Regions from separate parts of the Homo sapiens genome. Here region 1 is linked to region 2. The links are contacts of gene promoters, found by promoter capture Hi-C in blood cells and fetal thymus (Javierre and others, 2016). All regions are on one chromosome and are shown on one strand. Each heading gives the region's core, a stretch centred on a gene start or on the middle of the fragment in contact. The rest is flanking DNA. Distances are from core to core; before and after follow the strand shown. Region 1 overlaps FGGY (FGGY carbohydrate kinase domain containing). Region 2 holds the start of OMA1 (OMA1 zinc metallopeptidase).

Evidence for each region. Contacts are between HindIII fragments. The CHiCAGO score rates a contact against its expected background, and 5 or more counts as called.
Region 1: a fragment that was not itself captured here is called in contact with the fragment with the promoter of OMA1 in region 2 in 1 of 17 cell types (monocytes); the score reaches 5.1 in monocytes.

What each region holds. Positions count from the first base shown.
Region 1 is chr1:59,546,375-59,552,254 of GRCh38, reverse strand. The region is part of intron 7 of FGGY (FGGY carbohydrate kinase domain containing); the gene reads right to left. Among named protein-coding and RNA genes, the nearest start is that of MIR4711, 180 kb to the left of the region's middle. The HindIII fragment of the contact is 1,119 bases long and covers 1,434-2,552 here.
Region 2 is chr1:58,543,407-58,548,743 of GRCh38, reverse strand. It overlaps OMA1 (OMA1 zinc metallopeptidase), which reads left to right and starts at 2,018. Exons shown (of 9, transcript NM_145243.5): 1 at 2,018-2,041. It also overlaps a transcript of DAB1 not described here. RefSeq lists enhancers at 1,580-1,769, 1,983-2,609 and silencers at 2,170-2,269, 2,280-2,369. The HindIII fragment of the contact is 5,811 bases long and covers 1-2,845 here.

The sequences.
Region 1 (5,880 bases), core at 744-3,243, 1.0 Mb before region 2:
CAGGCAAGGGGAAGCAAGAGCCTATCTACTTCTCTTCTGTGCCAGGCAGCAGCTGCTTCCCCTCCACCACTCGGGCTCTGTTGACAGGGCTGCCATGGCTCCAGCATCGGCTGGTGTCCCCTGCCCTCAGACTATGAGAACACCACCTCCCTCCTCCCTCCTTAGTCCCTCCAGCCTGGGGATGGTAGCTGCTTCCATTTCACTGATCTCTGATTTGCTTCACAGGGAATGTAGCCCTTCTCAGCTCCTCCATCATCAGGATCGCCATTTTTGGGTATTAAGTTACTGGTTTTTTAAACAATTAGAGTGGTTTGTGTTTTGCTGAGTGAATCCTGAGTGACACGATTCTCCATTCAGGGCACAAAGGCTTTTGTACAGGAATAACCCAAGATATGAGCTCATTTTAACTGAGCTCTTTTTACATGCTCTTTCTATACATGTCTCATTTTATTCTTACAACAAACTAATGTCATTGGTATTAGTATTATCCTCATTTTATGGATAAGAAAATCGAAGCTTAGAAATGAGTAGTAACTTCACCAGGGTCATGCAGCTCACAAGGAACTGGGCTGTGATTCACATTCAGGTAATCTGATTCCAAAGTGCTGGTTCTTCCCCACCAAGACTCACAGGTTTTTCTCTAAGATAAAAATCCAATAGCCAGGCAACCAATGTTCACTTATCTGTACATCTCAAAATCTTGGGATCTTAAATATATTGATTCTGAGATCCTTGACAGAAAAGGAGTTGGCCACGCTGCTCCACAGTATCATAAATAGGTTCAAGGAATTCCTGAGAATCACCCACATTTACTGGTTGCATAAACATAAAGTACAGGCAAAGTTAATGTTACAGGGTCAGTCAATACGAAAAGGGAATTAAAATGAAGGAAAAAGAAATGTGTAGGAAATATTTATTTGTTTCTTCTTGGGTTGGCAGATTCACTGCTGCTATATCTAGACTTAGAACCTGAGAACTAGTGTGCTATTATGAGAAAAGGATGGAATTTGGAGACAGAAGGATCTGCTATAAAATGAGGAAAATCACAACATCACATGGTTGTTGTGATATTGCAGAAATGCTTAAAAAGAGATGTTTAATGGTAGCTCTGTCACCATCATCACTACCATCACTCTCTCCACCACCACCATCATCACCATCATCATCATCTGAACCCCCTCTCAAGAGACAACTGGATTCTTCCTTTCTAGTAAACATATCAACATCAAAGATAGGCTGGGTACTGTGCTGAGCTCCTTGAATGTTCTCTCATTTAATCTTTGCAACATCCATAAAAGGTAAACATTCTTTCTTCCTCTTAATAGATGCAGAAGTAGAAGAACAGAGCAGAGTGTTCAGGTAACTTGCCCAAGGCCACATGGATTTAAGAAGCAGTGCCAGGATTTGACCTTGTTCTGTCTGACTCCAAAGCTTATGTTCTTTCTATACTCCTCACTTTATGATGTTATAATTGTCTTACATAATGAAAACATACTTGGAAGTGCTAGTTCACCATGAAACTCAGTGAGAGCCATGGGCTAAGAGTTAGAAAAACAAGAGTTTCAGCCCCAATTCTGCCACAAATGGCCTAAAAGTTTGAACTGGTTCTCTCATCCCCACAATGAGAGAAATGAATTACAAATGGAGGTCCTTCCTCAGCCATTCTCAGTATATACACAGTGCTTCTCCTAAAATACAAGCTGAGGTATCTCCTTACCTAAAATTATATATATTGGGCAGGACTGGCCTCATTTCCCCTCAAGAGGTTCTCTACACTCTGCCTAATGTCCACCCCAATTCAGCAGCCATGCATAGCTGATGTTCACTGCAAGACCACATGAGTCGGAGAGCTGACATCTTATTTTTCCTTTGGCCACACAGTGCTTTGATGGGCTATCCCCGAGAAAAGAGGTTCAGAGATAAGCAGGGAAAAGCAAGAAAAGGTGGGAGGAGCTTTCTTCTTTCCGGAGAAACATATTTTGCCATCCACAGAGAACTCACAGGCTGCATGTGTACATCAGGAAACAATTTGACACAAGTGCAGCCCTCGGTACCGCTGGGGCCCTTCATATGACCATACCAGTGTCAGTTTATTCTGCAATCCTCAAAATGTTTAAGGAGAAAAATTAGCAGATGAAGAAACAGGCATAAAAAAACAGTGACATCATCAACTGTGTTTTCCCTGAAACTTGCACAATGCCCAACTGATGGCAGTTGCTCAATAAATGTTTGTTGAACTAAAAAACAAATAGCAGAAAAACAGGCTAACTCAATGAATTAAATGTCTCCCAACCCTCCATGTAACACACATAGTTCATATCAAGCAATGTTTAAAAAGAATGTTAAAAAAGGAACATTTAAAACTTCATGAACAGCTCTCTTATTTAATATGCTGTCTCCCTTCATCTCTCCCATTCATCCAACCAACAATACTTCCACCCAAGCATTGAGTCCCTACTATATTTATGTAAAATAAAAAAGAGACTTTGCAAATGTTATGATTAAGAGTACATTTTCCTATAATTTATCACGCTGTGGCAGTTTTGAAAGCTTACAAGGTTATATAGAAGAAAAACATCCTGAGTTCTCGCATTTGTGTTATAATTATCTCCCACTTTATAGCCATATAAAGTACTTTATAGCTTGCAAAGTATCCTCAAACACTGTAACCTTCAATTAGTCCTTAGAAAATCCTGTGATATGTGTATTTTATTTCCAGTTCACAGTTGAAGAAATTGAATTTCAGAAAGGTGAAGTAATTTAGTCGAGTTTATTTAGTAACTTAGAGGTAGAAGTTGGACTCAACTAGGATTTTCAGTCTTTGAGTCTGATGTGTTGGCATCTTGAAAAAGATTCTCTTTTAATAACCTCAGGCACCTTCTCTGAAGTATCAAAAAGGATAAGAAGGGTTTTGAACATTATTTAAGACTACATCTGTTTGAGACTCTTGATTCAGTCATTTGGATGAATGAACTGACTGATGAATCCCATCCAGTGAGTTTCTTGCCAAAGCTGGCTGGGAGGTTTCTGGAGTTCCTGGAGAGGAAGGGCTCCAGAGAAGACTCTCTAGTGACCACCAGCTTTATACATGCAAATTGACAACTGTATGCTTCTGGAAGGATAAGAATCATATCAAAGACGTGTTCTCTGCAGAAGACTTAACACCAGACTACATACACGCAGACACTGAAGTCCATTATTTTGACTAACATTCATTTATGTTAAACAGAACACAATATATTGAGTTAGTATTATGGCACAGTGCTTAAAAATAAGGACTCATTCATCATGTGATTTCTTATCTTCTTTATGTTTCTTATCTTCCTTATGCCTCAATTTCCACATCTCTACAATATGAATAGTATCCTCCTCACAGATTATAAAAATTATATATGTTAATATAGGTGTAAAGTACCCATAACAGTGCTAATAAGAGCATTCTGTGATGATGGAAATGTTCTATATTTGCACTGTCTGATACAATAGATACCAGACACATGTGGCAATTGAGCCCTGAAAATGTGGCTAGTACAACTGAGGACTGAATTTTTTATTCTATCCTAATTAATTCACATTTAAGTAGCAACATATAGCTAGTGGATATTATATTGAACGGTACAGGTTAAAACATGCCTAGTACTATATGAACCTTTGCTGTTTTTATTACTTTTATTATTGTTATTGCTGTTTTTGTTGTTTATCTACTTCTTCAGAGTTAGACTTGAATCCCTCTTTCATCCCCTTGGGCAAAGATGCCTTGACCCCTTAGAACTTCAATTTCCATATCTGAAGAATTTGGATAGCAATACTCACCCACAAAGTTGCTGTGAGAATTAAATGAGATTTAGGTGGAACACACCAGTACTCAATAAATGGGAGATACGCCATCCACGACCTGCAGAATTGCCTGGCATGAGCAGGGTTCCATATGGTTGGGACCTTTTCTCCTTATTCCTGAATGTGATTTGGTGGTCCTTGCCACTAAGCATTTGTTTACTTTGCTCCCTCTGCCTAGGATATCCTTTCCACCAATACACCTCATCCCATAACAATCCTGGGGAACACCAACTCCATTTTGAAGACTCAGTTGCAGCATCAGAAGCCTTTCCTGATCACATCTCCCCACATCCCCAAAACACCCCAGACCAGCAGAACCGACCAAGCCTCCTTCCTTTGTAGCCCATCTTCTGACTCTCTACAGATTCTGTCACTGTAACTTTAGTTTATGTGTCTGCACAGACAACACAAACAAATCCCTCTACTACACTATAAGCAAACGGAGGCCAGGGCAAGTCTTCACACTGCAGTAGCTCACTATTTTTTGTTGTTATTGTTGATGAATGAATGAATGAATAAATGAATGTGTGTGGCAGAAGTCACATACTAGTAAAGCACAAGACATTTTCTAGGTAACAATAGCACATTTAATCACGGACAAAGGCTCCGTGTCTTAAATATGAATAAAGGTGAAAAATATTGATTGGTTTTGAGTGACAACTCATGGGTAATAATGTAATTACTGGAGCCTCACAACATACCTTGTCAAAAATCACTGGTAAAGACTAAAGGTTCTAAGATCCTTGATTATTGGGAGATTGCTTTGTGCTTGACACTTTGCAAATATTATCATATTTGATTCCCACAGTGATACTGCAAGGTAGTTATTATCACTTTGATTTACAAATAGAGAAAAGGAGAGTAAAGTTTTCCAAGCAACTTCTACAAGGTCCCACACTACTAAATTGTGGGGGACCTCGGGGTGGGACTATATCACACCCAGATCTACCTGACTCTAATTCTACCTTATCCTACATTATCTCGTGGAGTTCACAGAAGCTAGTTCCTTTCTTTTCAACTACTTACAAGAACTCCAACTATTCCTAGACAATAGGATAGCTGAACTCAGATCTCTTTCAGGACTTACTGTCAAAATGCCACTAAAGCAAACCCAAAGGGTTAACCTCAAGCCTAGCAAATGAAGGGGAGTAAAACAGTCAAAAAGGTGGCCGGGCATGGTGGCTTATGCCCGTAATCTCAGCACTTTGGGAGGCCGAGGCAGGTGGATCATGAGGTCAGGAGTTCAAGACCAGCCTGGCTAATATGGTGAAACCCCGTCTTTACTACAAATATAAAAATTAGCTAGGCATGGTGGCACGCGCCTGTAGTCCAAGCTGCTCAGGGGGCTGAGGCAGGAGAATTGCTTGAATGCAGGAGGTGGAGGATGCAGTGAATCGAGATCGCGCCACTGCATTCAAGCCTGGGCCACAGAGCGAGACTCCATCTCAAAAAAAAAAAAAAAAAAAAGTCAAAAAGGTAATCCCAATGTTTCATGAAGTATTGCTTTGACCTTGAAAGAAATGTGGTCTAGAACTTACCCCAACTAAATCCTAAAGTAGGTTTACTTTTACTGCACTGGGTGTGGTAGCTCACGCCTGTAATCCCAGCACTTTGGGAGGCCAAGGAGGGTGGATCACGAGGTCAGGAGATCGAGACCATCCTGGCTAACACAGTGAAACCCTGTCTCTACTAAAAATACAAAAAATTAGCCGGGCGTGGTGGCGGCACCTATAGTCCCAGCTACTTGGGAGGCTGAGGCAGGAGAATGGCGTGAACCTGGGAAGCAGAGCTTGCACTGAGCCGGAGATTGCAGTGAGCCGAGATCGCGCCATTGCACTGGGAAACAGAGCCAGACTCCGTCTCAAATAATAATAATAATAATCATCATCATCATCATCATCATCATCATCATCATCATCATCATCCTATGCTTTAAGTCAACAGAGAAATTTTACACACCTTGACACTGCCACTGCCCCCTCCCCACCCCAACCCTCCCACCCTCTGCAGAGCAAGATAATAGGGAAGGTCTTTTTCTACATG
Region 2 (5,337 bases), core at 769-3,268:
CTGTAACATCTGCCAAGGGCAGAGGAGCAGCCAAGGGGGCTTGATCCACAGGAGGTTGTGGAGGGCTTTAATAGCATAAGGTCTCCCTAGGGGAAAAACAGACGGGCAGCCAACAAGAGTGTTGCCTAACATCTACAACTGGAGGAAGACAAGAAGCTATTTATCCTATGCAGGGAGTAGTTGCTTAATAAAAGGCACTGCTCATTGCTCAAGTCTCAGACCTGAGCCTATCTTCACACTGAGACCACAGAATCTGTTGACTTAAGAGGTTGTTGGGTCCCTATAAAGAAGAATCCTGCAATACTGAAACAAATATTTACTGTAATTAATGATTACTCTTTGGTCTGTGTCCCACGGCCATTTTCTTGACTGATTTTATGTTGAGGAAAGAGGAATACCCAGACATTTCACAGGTGTTACCCAAAGTATGTAACACACATGGCTCCTCTCTAAGTGTGGGGGCTTATGGGGATCAGGTAATAAGCAGAGTCCTGGATAATGTCCAGCTTACAGTGGGTCCAGGAATACACTGACCCATCCAGTAGTCATTTTCTTAGTTCCTGAGTGCATAATTGGGAGTACATATTGGGCAGCTGGAGCAATCTCCACATTGGTAAGAAGCTCAGGGTCCTTGGTCTTGAGTTATCATGGTGGGGAAAGCCAATGGGAAGCCTCTGAAGCTGTCCTTCTTTCCAAGTGAAGATAATAAATCAAAACCGATATTTCATCTGAGGGGATAGTGAGATGATGGTGGAGATTAATGTCATAATTAAAGACCTGAAATATACAAGAGTGGTTGGTCATCCCTGCCATATCTCTACTTAACTTGCCAGTCTGGCCCCTTTGGAAATCAGGTGGACCCAGGATAATGACATAATGGCTCTGCGCAGTCCAAAAGGAGCTGGATCAACTGGAAATTCCAGAGAACATCACACCCATCTATTTCACCAATGACATTATGCTAACCAGGCAAGATGAGCAAGAGGTGGCTAGCATGCTGGAAACTTTGGTAAGACATGTGCACTCCAGAGTTTGGGAGATAAACCCTACGAAGACTGAAGGACCTCCTACTTCAGTTTTTAGGGGTCCAGTTGTCAGGGGTTTTCCAGGATATCCCTTTCAAAGTAAAAGGCAAATCATAAAATACACATAAGATAAACGAAACAGTAACTTACACATTTTCCAAAAGAGATACCTAAAATTGTTCATAGTGTTTATGTCCTTTGACATAGTGTTTATGTCCTTTGAGATGTTTTCATTGTGCACAGAGTGTAAACATAATAAACTAATATGAGACCTCACTACTCATCCATCACAATCCAGTGTTTATTTGTACTGGCTTATTTGTACACTTTTATTTATTTGTGTTTATTTGTACACTTTTTTTTAATCGCCTGTCTTTCCTCACTGTGATATAAAGTTCACGAAATTCAGGTCTGTCTTGTTCACTGCTACATCCTTGGCACTTAAAATGTAGTTGATGCTCAAGAAATATGTTTTGGTGAAATGAATGAAACATACTATACACATAATTTTGGAGCCAGCTACTTTAACCTCCAGACACTTAAGATTATACTTCATCTTTCTTAAAATGCGTCCCTCCAAAAATCATATGAAAGCACTGTTCCCATACTCCAAAGACTATTTCTATGAATGCAGATTCAGAACCAGGAAGCCTTCGTCTTTTGGCAGTCTTCGAGTCTCTTCCCTTTTGGCCGGTACTGCCGTAGAGACTACAACGGACACAGCCTTGCGTGGATCATTCTTTAGAGGACCCAACTCACCAAAGACGGGAGAAAGTTGTTCCTAGGCAAGCAGCCCAGCCCAGGGCCATGTCCCGCCTTAAGCCACACGGAGGCGCTAGAGCGCCACAGTCTCCGCGGGGCCCGGGGCAGCTGGGAGAACGACTCTGGGCGGCTGTATTGACTGCCGGGTGTGGGCGGAGCGAAGGGCGCCCCGGCCGGTATGGCGGGCAGGAAGTGCGGGTGCGCGCCTGCGCATAGGTCGGGTCTGCGGTGTCACCGCTTTCGCTTCTGCTTGAGTCAGTCCTCACGGTGACGCTTTTCCCCAGCTTTTCCGAGTAGGATCGTGCCCAGGGGAGGAGGCAGAGTGCGGCAGTGGGGAGGGGGCGGAGCGCAGAGCGCCTGCGGGGGCGCCCGGGCAAGGAGTGGGGATCCTTGGGGATGGGGGTACGGGAGGAGGCGTGGGTGGGCGATAAGGCTGCGTGGAGGGGAGGGGCGGGGGGCGCCGGGGCGGGAGACGGAGGGGATCTGTCCTGGGGGAGCCCGGTTCTCCCCTAGCCTTGCCCGGGGCACGCCGGTGACCCCGTGTGTCTGCCCCGTGGCAGTACTTTCGTGGGCCGCCTGCCCTCCCCCTCAGCCCGCCCTTATCCGCGGCTCCGCTTTCAGAGCAGGGTTTCTCACCCGCGGGGCTTCGGGCTCCTCACCCGGCACCTCTGCCAGAGGGGACCGCCTCCCGGCGCGTCGGGCATTCGTCTCTTTCACCCCTTCCCTCTTCAGGAGAAACTGAACACGTTTTCCAGCCTAAACTCGGCAGGGCAAACCAGAACATTCCCCGTCTAAGCAGTTCCGGGGAGTTTTAACAATTTCCTCGTAAACTCGTCTACAGAACTCACTGTATACTGTTTAAATGTCGCCTGTGTGTGGAGCAACAGTTTTATTGTGCCGTGCAATCCTCAACAAGAAATTGTAGTCCAGGGAGATGAAAATCCCTTATTTGGCATTCAGGCGTTGATCAAGGTCGTGCAACCCTCGCTAAAAGGATTTAGGTTCATCTCCGTCATTCTCAGCCGGGGTGAAGGGGTGTAGTCTGACATTTGGAAGCTTAAGAACCAAGTCTGCTGCCGTCCAATTCTTTTTTAAAGCCTTCCATCATGTGTGTACTTTGCTTGAATGATTATTTTAAAGTACATGTCCTATTTTTGCCAATCTGACAGCTGTTTCCATAGAAACTAGAGAAGAAATAGTCATTTTCAGCAAGAGTTGTTAAAACTGTCTTCCAGGCTTCAGCTGTGAGTGCCAGTGAGTGCTGCACTTGCTCATTCGGAGATGGTACTTAAAGAATTAAGGATCTGAAATGTTCGTAGAGGCTAACAATCCAAATTGTTTAATTTTCTCACATCATTAATTTTGTTATCCTAGAAGTCTGCCAGCTATGTTTGTTGACCTGCCACAGCTCTTTGAAGAGAATATGTCAGCCCTGATTTTTTTTTTTCTTATGTGCTCTGTAGTCTAGTGATTGGCTCCTTGAAAATGCATGAATAGATTTCTTCCCTCATTCTTTACCCTTTCTTCAGGATAAACCGGGTATTACAAAATATCAGGCACTGTTTCTATTCAAAACGACACTTGGTTGTCAGTGATAGAAATGATAATGGTTTTAATTATATATGCGTAGTGTTGGGGCTTTTGCTTATACCTTCTGTGTCAATAGGATTCTTTTAAAATTTTTACACAAGTCATGAGAAATGAGAAGGAGTTTGCTTGTCATGTGCAGAGCTAAGCAGTGTGAATAGATGTGCATAGACATAGAGATGAGAGCTTTCTTTTTCTGTGGGGTGTAAGTAAATCAGGGAGTTTGGAATTTAGGAATGGGTGAAGGAGGGTTGGGGAAGGTGCCTGGAGAAGTAGTAGGAGGGCCTGGTTCGCCATATGAAGGAGTTTGTGGAAGCCATGGAAAACCAACGAAAGTCCAGGCGTGGTGGCTCATGACTGTAATCCCAACACTTCGCAGTGCAGTATGATCAGTTGAGCCCAGGAGTTAAAAACCAGCCTGGGCAACATAGTGACACACCGTGTCTACAGAAAAAAATTAAAAAATTAGCTGGGCTGGCCAGGTGCGGTGGCTCAGGCCTATAATCCCAACACTTTGGGAGACCGAGGTGAGCAGATCACTTGAGGCCAGGAGTTCGAGACTAGCCTGGGCAATTTGCCGAAACCCCGTCTCTACTAAAAATACAAAAATTAGCCAGATGTGGTAATGCATGCTTGTAATCCCAGCTACTGAGGAGACTGAGGCACGAGAATTGCTTGAACCCAAGAGGCGAGGTTGCAGTGAGCCGAGGTGGCACCACTGCACTCCAGCCTGGACAACGACAAAGTGAGACCCTGTCTCGAAAAGAAAAGAAAAACAATGGGAATTACAGAAATAGTTGCCTGAGTGGAGGTTTAAAAAAGTAATAATACATCCCGTAGAAATTTGAACTGCACAGAAATATATAAGGTGAAAATACTAATAATCCCTCTTAACCACCATCCTGCCATTCAAAATAATTGTGAATAGTTTGGTGTATCTTTTTTCAGATTTATTTTTGTATATACTAGCATATTTTCTCATTACTATTTTTGCAAATTGGGGAGGGTTTTTTAAAATCTGTTTTGTTCTCTGCAGTATCTCTAGCATCCATTATGGTGCCTAGCATTTAGTGGGCACTCATTAAACATTTTCAGAATGAATGAATAATAATACAGTTCAGAGGTCAAAAATACAAAATCTGAATGTTTGGTTAAGGTCGTTAAAATTTTTTAAGTTCATTGCCAACATTTAAAAATTGATAAATTTCACCTAAAATCTGAAATTCTGGCTTTACTTAAAAGTTTTGAATCATTTGGCCACAGCAAGTTCAAATTCCATCATAACTGTTTGCACCTCCTTTAGATGGTCATGAATCTGCATTCACATCAGTATCACTTTGCTGATATTCACTTGCCTGGACCCTACAAACCTGTACTGTGCGATACAGTAGACACTAGCCACATATGGCCATTTAACTGAGTTAAAAATTTCATTCCTCAGATGCACCAGTCACATTTCAAATGCTCAGTAGCCACATGTAGGGGCTACCTTATTGGACAGTGCAGACATGAACATTTTTATCATTGTAGAAAGGTCTGTTGTATGGTGCTTCTTTAGACGTTTGAGTTTGCCACCTCTGTTATACAGAAGTTTTTAGGTAGCATTTATTATTATTTTTAAATTTGTATATCCCTTTGCCAGAGATTGCTATCTTTTAAATCTTTTAAAGATTTACAGATCATCATGTCATTTTTTAAATGATTACCTGGTATTTACCAGGGTAGGACTGTATGTTAATTGTCGGGGTAGGATTCTGTTGCCAGGGTTTGCATTTTAGAAATAATGCTTTAGCTCTAGTTTGGGGTCAAACTGTAGTGGGAGGGGTTAGTGGTGAAATAAGGCAGGGAGATTAGGTGGGTAGTGATCAACACCATAAGACCACAGAGCCCAGGAAAGGCTAGAATGAGATAAGAAGGAGGTAGAATTGACATGACTGATTTAATGTGGGCTGAGATATTTTGG